2 separate regions of the Homo sapiens genome follow, and region 2 is linked to region 1. Evidence: promoter capture Hi-C in human tissues and cell types (Jung and others, 2019). All regions are on one chromosome and are shown on one strand. The core of a region is centred on a gene start or on the middle of the fragment in contact, and the rest is flanking DNA. Distances in the headings are between cores, read along the strand shown.

Region 1 (7,166 bases), core at 2,895-5,394:
CAGGTATTATTACTGTTCCCTCACTCCTTTTTGTTCAAGCCATCAAGGTCTCCCTGGATTAGTTTATATAAAACAGTCCCCGCTCCTCTCCACACCTTCCCCACCCCGCCCCCAAACTCTCTAACTCTTTAACTCTATTTCTTTTCATAGTAGTTATCACCATATACCTAGATATATATATTTGCTTATTTGTTTATTAGTTGTTTATTTTCTTTCCCCATTTGAACATGAACTCTGTAAGGCAGGCATTCCTTTATGTTGTTCAATACTGTATTCCCAGAGCATAGGACAAAATGTGGCATTTAGCTAAGTGCTCAAAAAATATTTATAAATGAATGAATGATGATTTATATTTGGCACAAAAGAGGCCCACAATAGCTACCTGTTGAATGAATGAACAAATGAGTATTGCAGAGATTCCCAGGAAGGGCACTGATAATGGGGGTAGGGGCAGAAACTAGCACATGTGTCTGGAACATTGGCTGCATGGGCTGCATGTCCCCTGAATGATGGTTTTTCTCTAGTTCTTTTTCTTTGTGGGCATTTATATGGTTTGTGGGACCACTTTTAAGTAGGCCACATGGTGGTTCTTGAGCCTCAGTGATCACCAGAAATATCCATAGAGATTCTTATTTAATGGGTCTGAGGTAGGTCTTGGGAATTTGAGTAACTTTGAGCAAGGATTTAACCCTCAGTTTCCTCGTATGTAAAATGGGATTATAACATCATTTTATAGAGTGTCAAGATTAAAGAAAATCATCTGTGCGAAGTGTCTCACACATAGTAAATATTAGATTCCCTTTGCTTCTGCTCAGGTTTTTGTTTTTGTTTTTGAGATGGAGGCTAGCTCTGATGCCCAGGCTGGAGTGCAGTGGCGCAATCTTGGCTCACTGCAACCTCCACCTCCCAGGTTCAAGTGATTCTCATACCTCAGCCTCCTGAGTAGCCGAGACTACAGGTTCACGCCACCACACCTGGCTAATTTTTGTATTTTTAGTAGAGATAGGGTTTCACCATGTTGGCCAGGCTGATCTCCAACTCCTGACCTCGAGTGATCCACCTGACTCAGCTTCCCAAAGTGCTCGATTACAGGCATGAGCCACCACACCTGGCCTGCTCAGGTTTTCTCTGAAGTTTAGAGGTTAAATCTTATGAACAGTTCATATTATGTGCTCTCCTAAAATTTAGTTTTGATTCACCTCAATCCAGATCTCTACTCTGAGTTGCAGTTTTTCAAACATAGAGTCAGTATCTTCATTTGAATGTCTCATAGGGGTATCAAACTCAACATATATAAAGCAACTCAAAATTGTCCCCTTCTGATCTCCTCCTCCACATTTCCCAAATCAGGAAATGGCATAAACTCAAATTAGAAACTTGGGAGTCATTTTTTGACACTTTTTCGCCTTTACCTTCCATGCATTTGATCAAATCCTTACAGTTCTAACCCTGACCTATATCTTCAATCCACCATCATCTCCTAATCTCCATTGCCTGCAAACTGGTTGTCACACATCCTCTGTTGCACCCTTCTTATTAATTCTCCACTCTGCAGCCGGAATAATCTCTTTTTTTTTTTTTTTTTTTTTTTTTTAAGAGACAATGTCTCACACTCTGCTGCCCAAGCTGGAATGCAGAGGCACGATCATAGCTCACTGCAGCCTCGAGCTCCTGGGCTCAGTCAGGTGCGTGCCACCAAGCCTGGCTAATTTTATTTTATTTTTGTAGAGATGGGGGTCTTGCAATGTTGCCCAGGCTGGTCTCAAACTCCTGGCCTCTAGTGATCCTCCCACCTCAGCCTCCCAATGTGCTGGGATTACAGGTGTGAGCCACTGCATCCAGGATCATCTTTTACAAATGCAATTTTTCATGTCCAGATAGGACCTTTTCAACTCTTCATTGGCTTCTTTTGTCTTTAGGATTAAATCCAAAGTCCTTAACCTGACCCTCAAGGGCCCGCCCACCTCTCCCTCCCAGGTAGCTCTCTCAGTCTAAGCACAGTGGCCTTTTCCCAAAGCCTTCACAGACAGAGCCTCTTCCTACCAAAGGGCCTTCAAACCTGCAGTTTCCACAGCTAAATGCACTGCCCACCCCACCCCCTTCTCTATGTTGCCTGCCCTAACTCCTCCTTATTCTTCAAGGCTGAGATTAAATGTCACTTCCTCCAGGAGATCTTTCTTACCCCCTAGCACAGACACGCTCCTTTGTTATACACTCTCATAACTCTCAGGCTTTTTTCCAGCAATCACAACAGCATCACCACACAGCCTCAAGTCCAAGCCACTTGCTTCACATTTGAAGTTGCCAGCTGTCAGACGGGAGATGAAGTAGAAATGGGATTGTTGTTGTCTGCACCCATTAGGACCCAGTTTTTTACAAGGGGGCATTTCCTCGCCCGATTCCAATGTGAGTTATTTTCAGGGCTGAAATTTGATTTAAATTTGGATTCCAACTTGAAGCTTAACATATCTCCAAAGTACACACTACTTTGCGGTACTGAATGAAGAATGTAAGTAGAAGGTTGCCTGCCACATGCCATGTAATGCTCTGAAGGACGGTAGAAACCACCAGCTCTCTCAGAAAAAAATGGTGGAAGAATTTTCAAAACCAAGACAGGCTGGCTTCTGTATATGCTTTGTGTAGAAATCTTGAAAGACTACACACTCAGGGGAGGAACACATATTGGGTGGAACTTCTGCCAAACTTTCAAGAGCAGCTACTTTCTAATGATCTGTAATTCAAAAAACAACCAGAACAAAAACCAGCTGGAAATGCAGTCAAAACACTGCTTTTCCATATTCCTTGCAATTATACTTTCATTTTTAGGTGGTGAGGAACACCAGGATGAGTCATTATAAAAAGCATGACTGCAGATGGCCAAGAGTGATACCGAAGCACCCTTCACCCTGAAGGTTAAGGTTAAAGCTCAAAGTCTGATCGCAAAGCATAAGGAAAAAAAAAAAGAACATGGATAAATGTATGCTGGTGTCCTTCAGCACCAGAAAAGCTGCTACTAAATCACTGGTGTGGCTTGGAATTGGTAGAAGCTTTGATTTGAGGAAAAGAGTATCATTAGCTGTGTAATTTTGAGTTGTTGTTTTAGAGACAAGGTCTCATTTTGTGGCCCAGACTGGAGTGCAGTGATGCGATCATAGCCCGCTGCAGCCTTGAACTCCTGGGCTCAGGCGATCCTCCCACCTCAGTCTCCTAGCCACTCCAGGTCTCGCTGTGTTTGCCCAGGCTGGTCTCAAATTCCTGGCCTCAAGCGATCCTCTCGCCTGGTCCTCCCGAAGTGTTGAGGTTACACGCATGAGCCACCAATCCTGGCATTATGGCATTAGCTGTGTAATTTTTAAAATAACTGTCTTCGGACCAACACCTTTCTTTTGTTCACTGGAGTATCCCTGGGGTGTGTCTCATTCCCTGAATCATACACAGTAGATGCTCAATAGTTTTGTAAATAAAATAAATGAGCTCTCGGATTTACATGCAGACTTTGGATCAGTTTGATCTAGGTTTAAAAGCAAGTGTGGGGAAACTTGAAAAGCCTGGCACCCCAGCCAACTCTTCAGCGCCCCATGCGCTTGGCGCCTACACCTGCCTGGCACGGGGAGGGTGCTATGGGGCTGCCCTAAACCTCACCCCCTCCTGCGGTGGTTCCTGCCCGTCTCGGCTCCTGCACCGCCCACACTATGCGCTGCTGGGCCGAAAGACACGTGGTTCGGTTTTAACTCCAGTCTGCAAGAAACATGACCTCAGCCAAAAAGAGGCCGCTGGTCTGAGAAGAGAAATCATGAGTCATGGATTCGGGGGTTCGGACCTTGGAGCAGGCGGTGAAGTGGGCGTGCGTGGGCTGGTGGGGAAGAGGGATGCCGAAGGAGGCCACAGCCCTTCTCTCCTGGGCAGGCTCCCCAGAAAACTGCCCCCTTGCCGTCATCCAGCGCCCCCGTTCCCGACAGCTGTCTGCCAGGGCGCGGCCGGGGTCCGGGCGGGGCGGTGCTGTCGCTCCGGGTCGCCGCCCCGCGGGCCACATCACCAAGGCCCGGGCTTCCCCGGCGGCGGCGCGGCTGCGCTTGCGCGGGGCTGCCGCGCGGGGGCGGGGCGGCGGGGAGTCAGGGGGCCGCGGGCGCCGACGGCCGGGCTGTCAGCTTGGGGCCGCAGCCGCGCGAGGAGGCGCGGGAGCAGGAAGGAGCTGTGGGCTGGGAGCCGCTGTCCTCCCCGCCACCACCGGTGCCGGGCACCAGGTGAATGCCCCTTCCATCCCCCGCCCCTGGTGTCTCGGTCTGGTCTGAGGAGACGGGGACCCTTCTCACACCGGCCGCTGCCGCCGCCGCGCTCCGGAACAGGTGACCATGGAGGGGAAGTCTCGGCTTCGGCCGCGGCGCCGCGTTCGGGCGCATCAGGTGCGGGAGGGAGGTGGGGCCGAGAGGCCTGGGCTCGGGACCCGGCGGCGGGGGCGCGGGGAGCAGAGGGAGCGGCCCCGCCCGAGCAGCCGTGCCCCCTGCGGACGCCTCTCCGGGCCGCCGGGCAGCGCCCGAGCCCAGGCCCCCGCGCCTGCCCCACCTCGGGCTGAGGGAAGCTGTTCCGCGGCCACCGCGGACAAGCGGTCCCGGGCGCCCAAGGCAGGGACAGGCGGCGGGTGGTGTATGAGTGATGGCTGAAGGTGAGCTGGGATGGAGATGCTGCGAGGCTGGCTCGGGCACACCCCAGATGCCTGTTCAGGGCTCCGCGAGTGCCCCGTCACCCTTTTCTTTCATTCTTCTCTTTATATACACGGAGCATATCTCAAATTTAAAAGCCCAAATGCTCATTTACAGAGAGAGATGACACATATCTATGTGTTACCGATATACATTGATGTGTATATTACGTATATATGTCATCTTTTTTTTGTAGTGACAATTTTTAAATTGAGATATACATCACATGCCATAAAACTCATTCTTCTAAAGTGTGGCTTTTAATATATTCACAGAGTTTTCCAAATATGACCACTATCCAGATCATCATCCCCAAAAGAAACCCTGTCTCTCTTAGTAATCACTCCTCATTTCCCCTTGACCCCACCCCACTAGCCACCACTAATCTACTTTCTGTTTATATGGGTTTGCCTGTTGTGGAAATCTCATATAAATGGAAGCGTACAATATGTGGCTTTTTGTGTCTGGCGTCGAAAGACATACTGTAATGTTTTCAAGTTTCACTCATGTAGTATGTATCAGTACTTTACTTTTTATAGCATATTAATATTGTTGTATCAGTGTACCACATTTGTTTATTCATCAGTTGATGTACATTTGGGTTGTTTCCAGTTTTTGGCCATTGTGTGTAATGCTGCTATGCACATTTGTTTACACGTTTTTGTGGACATGTGTTTTCAGTGCTCTTGGGTATATACCTAGGAGGGCAATTGCTCCGTGTTTCACTTTTTGAGGAACTGCCAAGCAAAGCAGCTGTACCATTTTACTTTCCCACTAAGCAGTGTATGAGGGTTCCGATTTCTTCACATCTTCCCCAAGGCTTGTTACTTTTTTACTGGTTATTTTTTATGATAGCCATCGTAGTGAGTGTGGAATGGTATCTCTTTGTGGTTTTGATTTGCATTTCTCTAATGATTGGGGATGCTGAGCATCTTTTCATGTGCTTATTGGCCATTCATATATTTTCTTTGGAGAAAATGTTCATATCTTTTACCCATATTTTAATTGGGTTGCTTGGCTTTTTATTTTTATTTATTTATTTATTTATTTATTTGGAGACTGACTCTCAGTCTGTCACCCAGGCTGGAGTGCAGTGGCACAATCTTGGCTCACTGCAACCTCCACCTCCGGGGTTCAAGCGATTCTCCTGCCTCAGCCTCCCAAGTAGCTGGGACTACAGGCACACACCACTATGCCCGGCTAATTTTTGTATTTTTAGTAGAGACGTGGTTTCACCATGTTGGCCAGGTTGGTCTCCAACTCCTGAATTCAAGTGATCTGCCCACCTCGGCTTCCCAAAGTGCTGGGATTACAGGCATAAGCCACCACGGCCAGTCTGGGTTGCTTAGCTTTTTATTGAGTTTTATTGTTCATTTATGGAAAAAAATTTCTGTTAATAGGTTTGGATACTGGCACTGACTTGAAAAAATCCAACCAATCTGATACCGAAAAACTTAATGCTTATTCTTGGGTAAAGGTTGAATAAGTGCCACTTCATTCTTTAAGAATACCCTACCTGTTCATTCTGGACATCTTACTGACCCCTTTACATTTACTGCCCTGGTATTTTGAGCAAAGCTACAGAAGGCATATTCCTGACTGGAGTCAAGAGAGACCACCCTTAATTGGTATTTTCATATATTCTATGCTCAATTTGAAAATCCCAGTTATCACTTTAATTACAAAAAATTTATATTAGTGGCCAGCTGAACAAACTAACAATAAATGGCAAGCACAAATCACTCAAAAATTTATGTTTAACTTCTCAGTAAAGTGGAGAATCTTGTTTTCTTAAGTTTGTGCAGTGTAGTTTTTATTACAATTATGTTCATGTGTGGGTGGTAAATAAATATTTTTGATGGCACTAAAGTTAAGAGCCACTTACAGCTAAATGAATGCTGCTGTGCTTATTTCATGGTTAATTTCCGAGCGCACACAAATTCAGCATCAGGTCTTTCATGGCCAAAAAAAAAAAAACCACTAAAAAGACCTGATGTTACCTCCCAGGAATTCAAACTCAATTTTCCACTGATCTAATATGATTGTTGTTAAAGAAAAAGATTATTCGATGATACTTGTTAAAATGTGGTAAAAAAAAGTCTATTCAGGACCATTGTGATAGGTAAAGGGACCATGGAATGGGATTTTGCAGTTTGGGAGGAAGACTAGGCTCAATTCTGAATACGGTGTGGGCAAATGGGAATTTATAGCCAAGGAGCAGTGTCATGGTCAGTGGACAGAAAAGTACTGAGAGGAAACACCGGGGGTAGTGGATATTCAGACCAAACCAACCTAACAGGATTCTTGCTGAAGACAGGCCAGAGTGATCAGACACCACCTGGGGGACAGTGGAAGCTGAGGAACCTAATCAGGTTGTGAGGGTAATCAGGTAGCGAGGGTAATCAGAAAGCGAGGGCCAGCTGGGTGCAGTGGTTCATGCTTGTAATCCCAGCACTTTGGGAGGCT
Region 2 (7,166 bases), core at 1,617-4,116, 1.9 Mb before region 1:
AGTTTTATCTTTAAGTGGTTTTAAAAATTATTTCTTGGTAATTTATTTACAGAATTTTTCTTATCTGTTGTCCAAATTAACAAAATAAATATTAATAGGTCAGCATGCCAACTGACACTGTAGAATAAAGTAGTAGAAACAGAAGTTCTTAACGCTCTTCCCAATAAGGAAGGATTAAAAGTTAAAGAATGAGGAGAACTAAGAGAACAAACAGCCAGTGGAGATGATTCTTATTTGATGTTCCTCTACTAGTCAAAAACCATTTCAGAGAGTACTTTAACCAAGAGCTCAAAGTAGTTAGTCCCACTACAGATCTAAAGAACAATGACTACAGATAGGCAATACAAAGGTAGCATGACGTCCTACTTAAAGGTGTCTAGCTACTGGAAAGGTCCTATATAACCTAAGGATAGATAATATCAAGCTTCTCAAGTTAATCCTCCCCTGACACCTTAAGGTGTTTAATTTAGCTGGATCCAAGTCCTCTTAATTCAATTTCCAAGCAACCTTACAGTATATTTTAATGAGGTAGAACAGCACTGTCTAATAAAAATATAATGTAAGCCACAATGTAAGCCAAGTGTATGTACTCTTAAATGTTCTAGTAGCCACATTGAAAAAGAATAGGTAAAATTAATTTTAATATTTTAACCCAGTGTATCAAAAATATTATCATTTCCATATGTAACCTATATTAAACAAATAATGAGATATTTTACTTTTTTTGTGCCAAGTCTCTGAAATCTAGTGAGTATTTTACACTGATAGGACATCCCAATTTGGACTAACCACATTTCAAGTGCTCAACAGTCATATATAGCTGTGGTTACCATACTCTGGACAGGGTAGTCTAAAGAATATTCTGATGAAAACAAGATCTTTATATTTTCATATCTATAATAGATCTTACAATGCTCTAAAAATTAGATCATGTTTATGAAATGTACCTGAAAAGCATTTCCTTAACTAACTTATCACAAAGGTAGGTATAATCACAGTCGTTGATATTTTTGTAAGGAGAGTAAAATAACTTATTTTTAAGAAAAAACTATGTATTTGTTATTTTTCAGTTATAAACTACCTATCTCAGCCTTAGTCAGTTTAAAATTAATCTTTTGATTAAAGGGAACTAATCCTATATCTGGTGCCTGCATTTATTATAAAAGTCATGTTCCAAATAGTACACAATGACTGGCAACAACAAAAAAAACAAAACACTTATTGGCTAAGGAGTAAGAAAAGGAAGAAATGGTAGAACAATTATCTTTAATTTATATAAATATAAATTTTAAAACATAGATTTTGATGGCAGAATATATAAGTAAAAAGGCAATGTATCTTGTTAGACAGTGATGGGGTAAGGGTGAGTAGAGGATTAATTAGCTCTGGTTCCAATGTAGAAACTAAAGGGGATTAGAGAAGTCAAAACAAAACTGTAACTTGAAATATTATTTCCCTTGGTTAGTTTAAGCTTAAGCCAGTCAATGCTCTCTCCCCTTTTCTAGAGGAGGCACCACTATTATATACAAGTTGTGTGCAATAGCTAAGGCAAATGAAATTGTATTAGGCACAGTGGGCTTGCTTTTACTACACAATTCCCATTCAGATCTCCTGCTTGAGTTGCAGGGGCTTATTTTTTCCGAAGTCAGGGAAGGAAAGAGGAGGTGAAGAGGCAGGCAAATTTCATCCGCTTTTCCATCTCTGCCCTCACATTAAAAAATGTCAAATGAGGCTTTCTATAATTTCATGCCTCAGGCCTTAAATGTTTATATTTGATAAATATTACAGTTATCATTCTATATTAAAGGAATTATGGACCCCAATATTTAAATAAGCCAGTCATGGCTCAAAGTACTTTATGGAATTCCTTTCTGGCCCTGAATTTTATGACATCTGGCCAAAAAATGGAACTGACAGAGTGTACTTTAAAGTCTTAAGCCATGTAGGTATTTTAAAGCAAAAAACTGCCCTTCAAATTTGGGGATCAGCTATTTTCATTATTTCATCATCACATACTGTGGAAACCACAGGGTACAAGGCACTGTACTAGCTAGACATGATGGGATTTATAGGGTTCAGATTCTTTTCCAACTCTTTAGACCTCCAGGTGCACTGCCAATCACCTTATCTACATCTATCACAAATATAATCCTTATACTAAAAAAAAAAAATCACTTGGAATACTCTTAAGTCAGCTGGTATTCAATGGGAAGAAAATATCTGAGCACTAATCTCTCCAATATCTTTGGAAATCTAGTTGAGAGAAAGCTGCTAAGGTGATGAGCTCCTTGAGGCAGCGGCTATGTCCAGCATGGAGGCAAAATAGAAATGTAATTTTAACTTTTACATTGGTGGTTTTACAATTTTGGTAGTGAATAACATCTATACCCTACACCAGGCTCAGTAACAGTACTTGGCATGACCAACCTTAGTCATCATCACTTTGGTAAGTGCTTTGGCACGGGCCACTGTTGCTAACCACCATCCTGGTGCAGGTCCTTCACATCTGCTCTCCTATGGATGGAAAAAAGGAAGTGTCTAGTGTCCATTCATTGGCCACATCACCTCCAACCCTATCCTTTACTCACATGCCTTTCAATTCAGGTGCAGGAGAAAACCATTTCATTTTTGAGAAGGAAAGTTAATCAGACAAAGCTATGGTACACTCTTAGCACAATAACGACTTGGTTGAATGCAGAACGTCCTAGAGTGAAAGGGAGGGAACTAACCAATAGTACAATGCTGACAGGGTGATGAGGAAGTGTTCTGGCAAACACTTACTATAACAGACAGACACCGTAGTACAGTGGACAGAGCAAACGTCTTGAGTTCTGGAAAATGAAGGTCTAGTCTCACTTTTTAAAATGAAACTAGAAAGAGGATGTATGTGAAAGTGTTTTATAAACTGTTAAAAGGAAATGAATTATCATCAGTCATTAGCTTGGAAATGCTTTGGGCAATTCTTTGGTACTTGCTTCCCCCAATGATAAATCTGATAACGTACTAATCAAATAATGATAAAACAACCTGAGCTCTTTAGAAGAAATAAGTAGTATGTGACTATCCAAGACTTATTAACAAGATTAAATTTCTCTCCACCTGGAATGAATGGTCATTTTTCCATTTTTCTATTAAATACATCAAAATTCTAGGATCAGCACAAATGCTAGCTTTCCTGTGAAACAGTCCCTGAATCATCCAGACAGAATGAACTACTCCTTTTCCTGCATGCTTACATTTCAACATAGAACTCATTTTGTCATTATTTCCTTCTACCTTGTATTCTAGACTAGATTACAGTCATTTCTTCCACTAGAATGTGAGTTTTCCAAAGGCAGAGACTGTCACATTCTCCTCTGAATCTTCCTCAGGTTCCTAGCACGATGCCTTGCACAGAGTAGCTGCTTAGTAAATGTTCCCTGAATTGTACTGAGTTTAGTCTATTTTGGCTTTATGGCATCTTTTTTTACCTCAAAAAAAAGTGGAAAGAGAGAAGAAACTTAAGACTAATGAGGAACACAGCACAAAAGACATGTAAGACGCATAAAGAATGACTTCATTCTTTGCATTACTGCTTTGGAATGCCCACTGCTGATCTTTATACAGTTTTGTCATTGATTGTATTTAGTGAGAGCAAATGTTAGAAAGCACACAAAGGCAGACAATGTAAAACGCCCAACACACGTCATGCAAAAATTCTGTATGATTTGAACTATTCTCAAGGTTGCCTTTTGCTTCAACTTTAATGGCAAAATTGATACCATCAAAGCCAACATAAGACATATTTGCTCTGCTTTAAACATGCAAAAATCAGTGTCACCTTCAGTTGGGCATCTGCTGGGTACTTCCGGATAAGTAGGCATCTTCTTTGAGGCATAGTTTAAATCAGGTGGAAGCTGGGGTATTTCAGACTTGACGTTTGTATATTTATTTGTTGGCAGCTTCTAGAATATGTGGATTCCCCTGAGATTAAAAGGAGAAGGACCTAGCACCTTTGTTTTCTGTGCCTGTGATAGAGATGCCTTATGAAATGGTAGTTCCTCTATTAGTAAGCCAAGTATCTGGATTATACTGTGTAGTCTTAGGCAGTTATTTCCCCTGTCTTCCATTTCCCTACCTGGAGTTTACTCATCCAGGGTAGATGGCCCAGTTAAATGGCATTTGTGTTAAACTTTAAAAACTCATGTTGTTGGTCAGAATATGAAATTTATGCAACTGGTTTACTGTCCTAACACACTAATGTGTTCTACTCAGGTCCTTGCTAACCTTTCCTCTCCAGTTTCTACCAGATGGACTCTGTCGGGTTTGTTTTTTTTTTTTTTTTTGAGACAGAGTTTTGCTCTTGTTTGACCAGGCTGGAGTGCAATGGTGCGACCTTGGTTCACCGCAACCTCCGCCTCCCAGGTTCAAGCGATTCTCCTGCCTCAGCCTCCTGAGTAGCTGGGATTACAGGCATGTGCCACCACACCCGGCTAAATTTGTATTTTCAGTAGAGACAGGGTTTCTCCATGTTGGTCAGGCTGGTCTCAAACTCCCGACCTCAGGTGATCCACCTGCCTCAGCCTCCCAATGTGCTGGGATTACAGGCATAAGCCACTGTGCCCGGCCTGACTCTGTTGGTTCTTATCCTGTTGTTTTTATACCCCTGTGTTTCATTAGCTACATCAGCTCCTCCTGGAAGTGGCCAAGCACACATCTTATCTTTATATATTCATTTTGATCTTATTCTGCCTCCTATAGGTTTGCCCTATCGGTATCTTCTCTGTGACTATTAATCCCTTCTGGGAGGGAACATTTCTGTTCTATACAAAGGTATGGAGAATGTAATTTGCAAAGAGGCAACAATGTCTTTTGAAGATTGTGAATATAGTCAGTTAGCTGTAAATTCTAACCTTGAGAAAGGATGAAAATTTAAAAGGGCTAGCTGGAAGTTACTGAGTTCTAGTCTTATTAGCTTTGTAGATAATTAAGCTATTTACTCCTAAACAACTTCTACCACACTACCAGCATCATACTCTGCAGCGTGGATAAATATCCATACTTGTCACACTCCCCATGTCAGTCTCTTGTTCTTGTCCATTTCTACCCCTAAGCCTCTGCTGTGCCCTTAATCTCTGCTCGTTTCTGTGTTCCACCTTTCCCTTTCATGGTTGGCTCTCTGGCTTTTCCATTCCAATGGCTCCTTCTTTTGACTGAGGGATACTAGCCTTTACACAGTTACTGTGAAAAAGGGGATGGCCAGAAGAAATGCATCTTTAAGTGGCAGCTGCCACCAACACACAGAAGCATTCATTCAAGATGGCTTAAAGAAGATAGTGACTCAATGTATGACTAGAAAATAGAGTGACTCAGCCAAGTATGAAAGGAATTATTTTCTAATAACTCCTCCAAGATGACTAGTTGCTGATTAGTATATACTTGATTTAATTATTTCAAAACTGGTTATTTTTGAAGGGGAAGGAGGTGAGAAGCAAGAGGGGAAGGGGAGTTTTTTGGTTTTTTTTTTTTTTTTTTTTTTTTTTTAGAACTCCTAATTAATACAAGTCCCTGTTTTCAGAAAATCCTTCATGTGAGCTATTTCTTTTCACTTTTTCTTATTGGGTGCATGACATTTTAGAATTCTTGGTTTCAGCAGCAACCCAAAAAGGCGTAATTGCAAACTTACACATCAAAAATGAAAAAATAAAAGCATCATGATTTGAAACAAAAACTAAAACAGGCTAAAACAAAAATACAAGCAGCAGCAAAATCACTGAATCTAACTCACAGCATCTTTTTGAAGACAGGGAGGTTAGTTGGTTAATTATTACAGTGCTCTGGTAGTTACTATCTTAGCTTTGAGAGTTTAAATGTTTAGGAATGCACATCCAGAAGCGGCACATGTAGAAAAACCATGGTAGCCAAGAGCTATCTGAACTACTGCTGCCTGGGCCACCCTATTCCAATCAACATGGATTTCCAGAGTTGCTGTTCTATGGTAACTCTCAGTGAGAGAGACAAAGAAATAGACCATTTTTAGAAACCAAGCAAAAAATGGATGGGAATACAATACCTGGAAAGTTTATCAAGCATGTTGACAAGTTTCATGGCTTCATATTCTTTTTGTTCTTCTGTCATTTCATCTATGGGGTTTGGCATTGGTTCCTCTAAATGACCAGTGATAAGATTAATGCTACAAAAAGAAAAAAAAGTTATGCTGTATGTTTTAAAATTATGCTCTTTCTATACTTTTCTGGTCCAACTTTTAAGTGATAATAAGAAAGAGTATAATAGCCAAAAAATTGGCAATAATTTCAATTTTATGGTATAGAACTGATATAGGAATTTTTAAAACTGGACTTTTCCACTAATTTGCTTTGGGAAATGGGCTATACTTTTTTTAAAAAACGAAAACTGTCTTGCCAACTTTTTTTTTTTTTAGAGGCATGGTTGCTTTTTAAAAATACAAAATTTGATTAGTGCCGTTAGGATATCCGTGGATGCACAGCTTATCCATTAATTCTAAGGGGACACATGATTTCAGGGAAGAAGAAATGAGGAAATCCATTTTGTGATACAGCATAAAACAAACATCAAAAAAAATTGGAAAAATGATGACAGAGAGGCTACAATCTGGAAATGAAAGCATGCCAATTTATAATCTCAGGAAATTAGTCCATTAGTGAGACCACAGAGGGCAATGAGTGTTTAAATAATAAAAGATAAAGCAGAAGAACAATTTTAATTAGGTTTGATCTGGCCTAGACAAAAAAAGGGATGAAATCTAGCCTACCAAGAGACAGGTATATCATCCTGGCTATCTGGAAATAGATTTAATACAGTACTTAAAATGAATACTTTGCATAAACTTTGTATGAGGTTATAATACCAAACAAACTATTCTCTTAGAGAAAAGCCATACTTTTTTTTTTTTTTTTGAGGACAGGAAATAAAAGATAACTCTTTCAATGGCTCCTAAATATCCACAACAAACATTTTTCTGGAGAAGCAGACAAGAGATCACAGTATCTTGTACCAGCCAAGTACATACTGTTTTTTTGTTTTTGTTTGTTTGTTTTGACGGAGTCTCGCTCTGTCACCCACGTTGGAGTGCAGTCGCACAATCTCGGCTCACTGCAACCTCTGCTTCCTGGGTTCAAGTGATTCTCCTGCCTCAACCTCCAGGG

What was found. Contacts are between HindIII fragments. The study calls those that stand out against the background at their distance.
Region 2: a fragment that was not itself captured here is called in contact with the fragment with the promoter of SLC41A2 in region 1 in 1 of the 25 tissues and cell types used here (heart left ventricle).

The regions. Positions count from the first base shown.
Region 1 is chr12:104,955,268-104,962,433 of GRCh38, reverse strand. It overlaps SLC41A2 (solute carrier family 41 member 2), which reads left to right and starts at 4,144. Exons shown (of 11, transcript NM_001352171.3): 1 at 4,144-4,346. RefSeq lists silencers at 3,966-4,235, 4,426-4,755. The HindIII fragment of the contact is 10,569 bases long and covers 2,754-7,166 here.
Region 2 is chr12:106,869,829-106,876,994 of GRCh38, reverse strand. It overlaps RIC8B (RIC8 guanine nucleotide exchange factor B), which reads right to left. Exons shown (of 10, transcript NM_001330145.2): 9 at 6,053-6,172. All of the region lies in intron 2 of LOC105369961 (a long non-coding RNA gene), which reads left to right. Among named protein-coding and RNA genes, the nearest start is that of TMEM263-DT, 82 kb to the left of the region's middle. RefSeq lists an enhancer at 25-574. The HindIII fragment of the contact is 3,835 bases long and covers 949-4,783 here.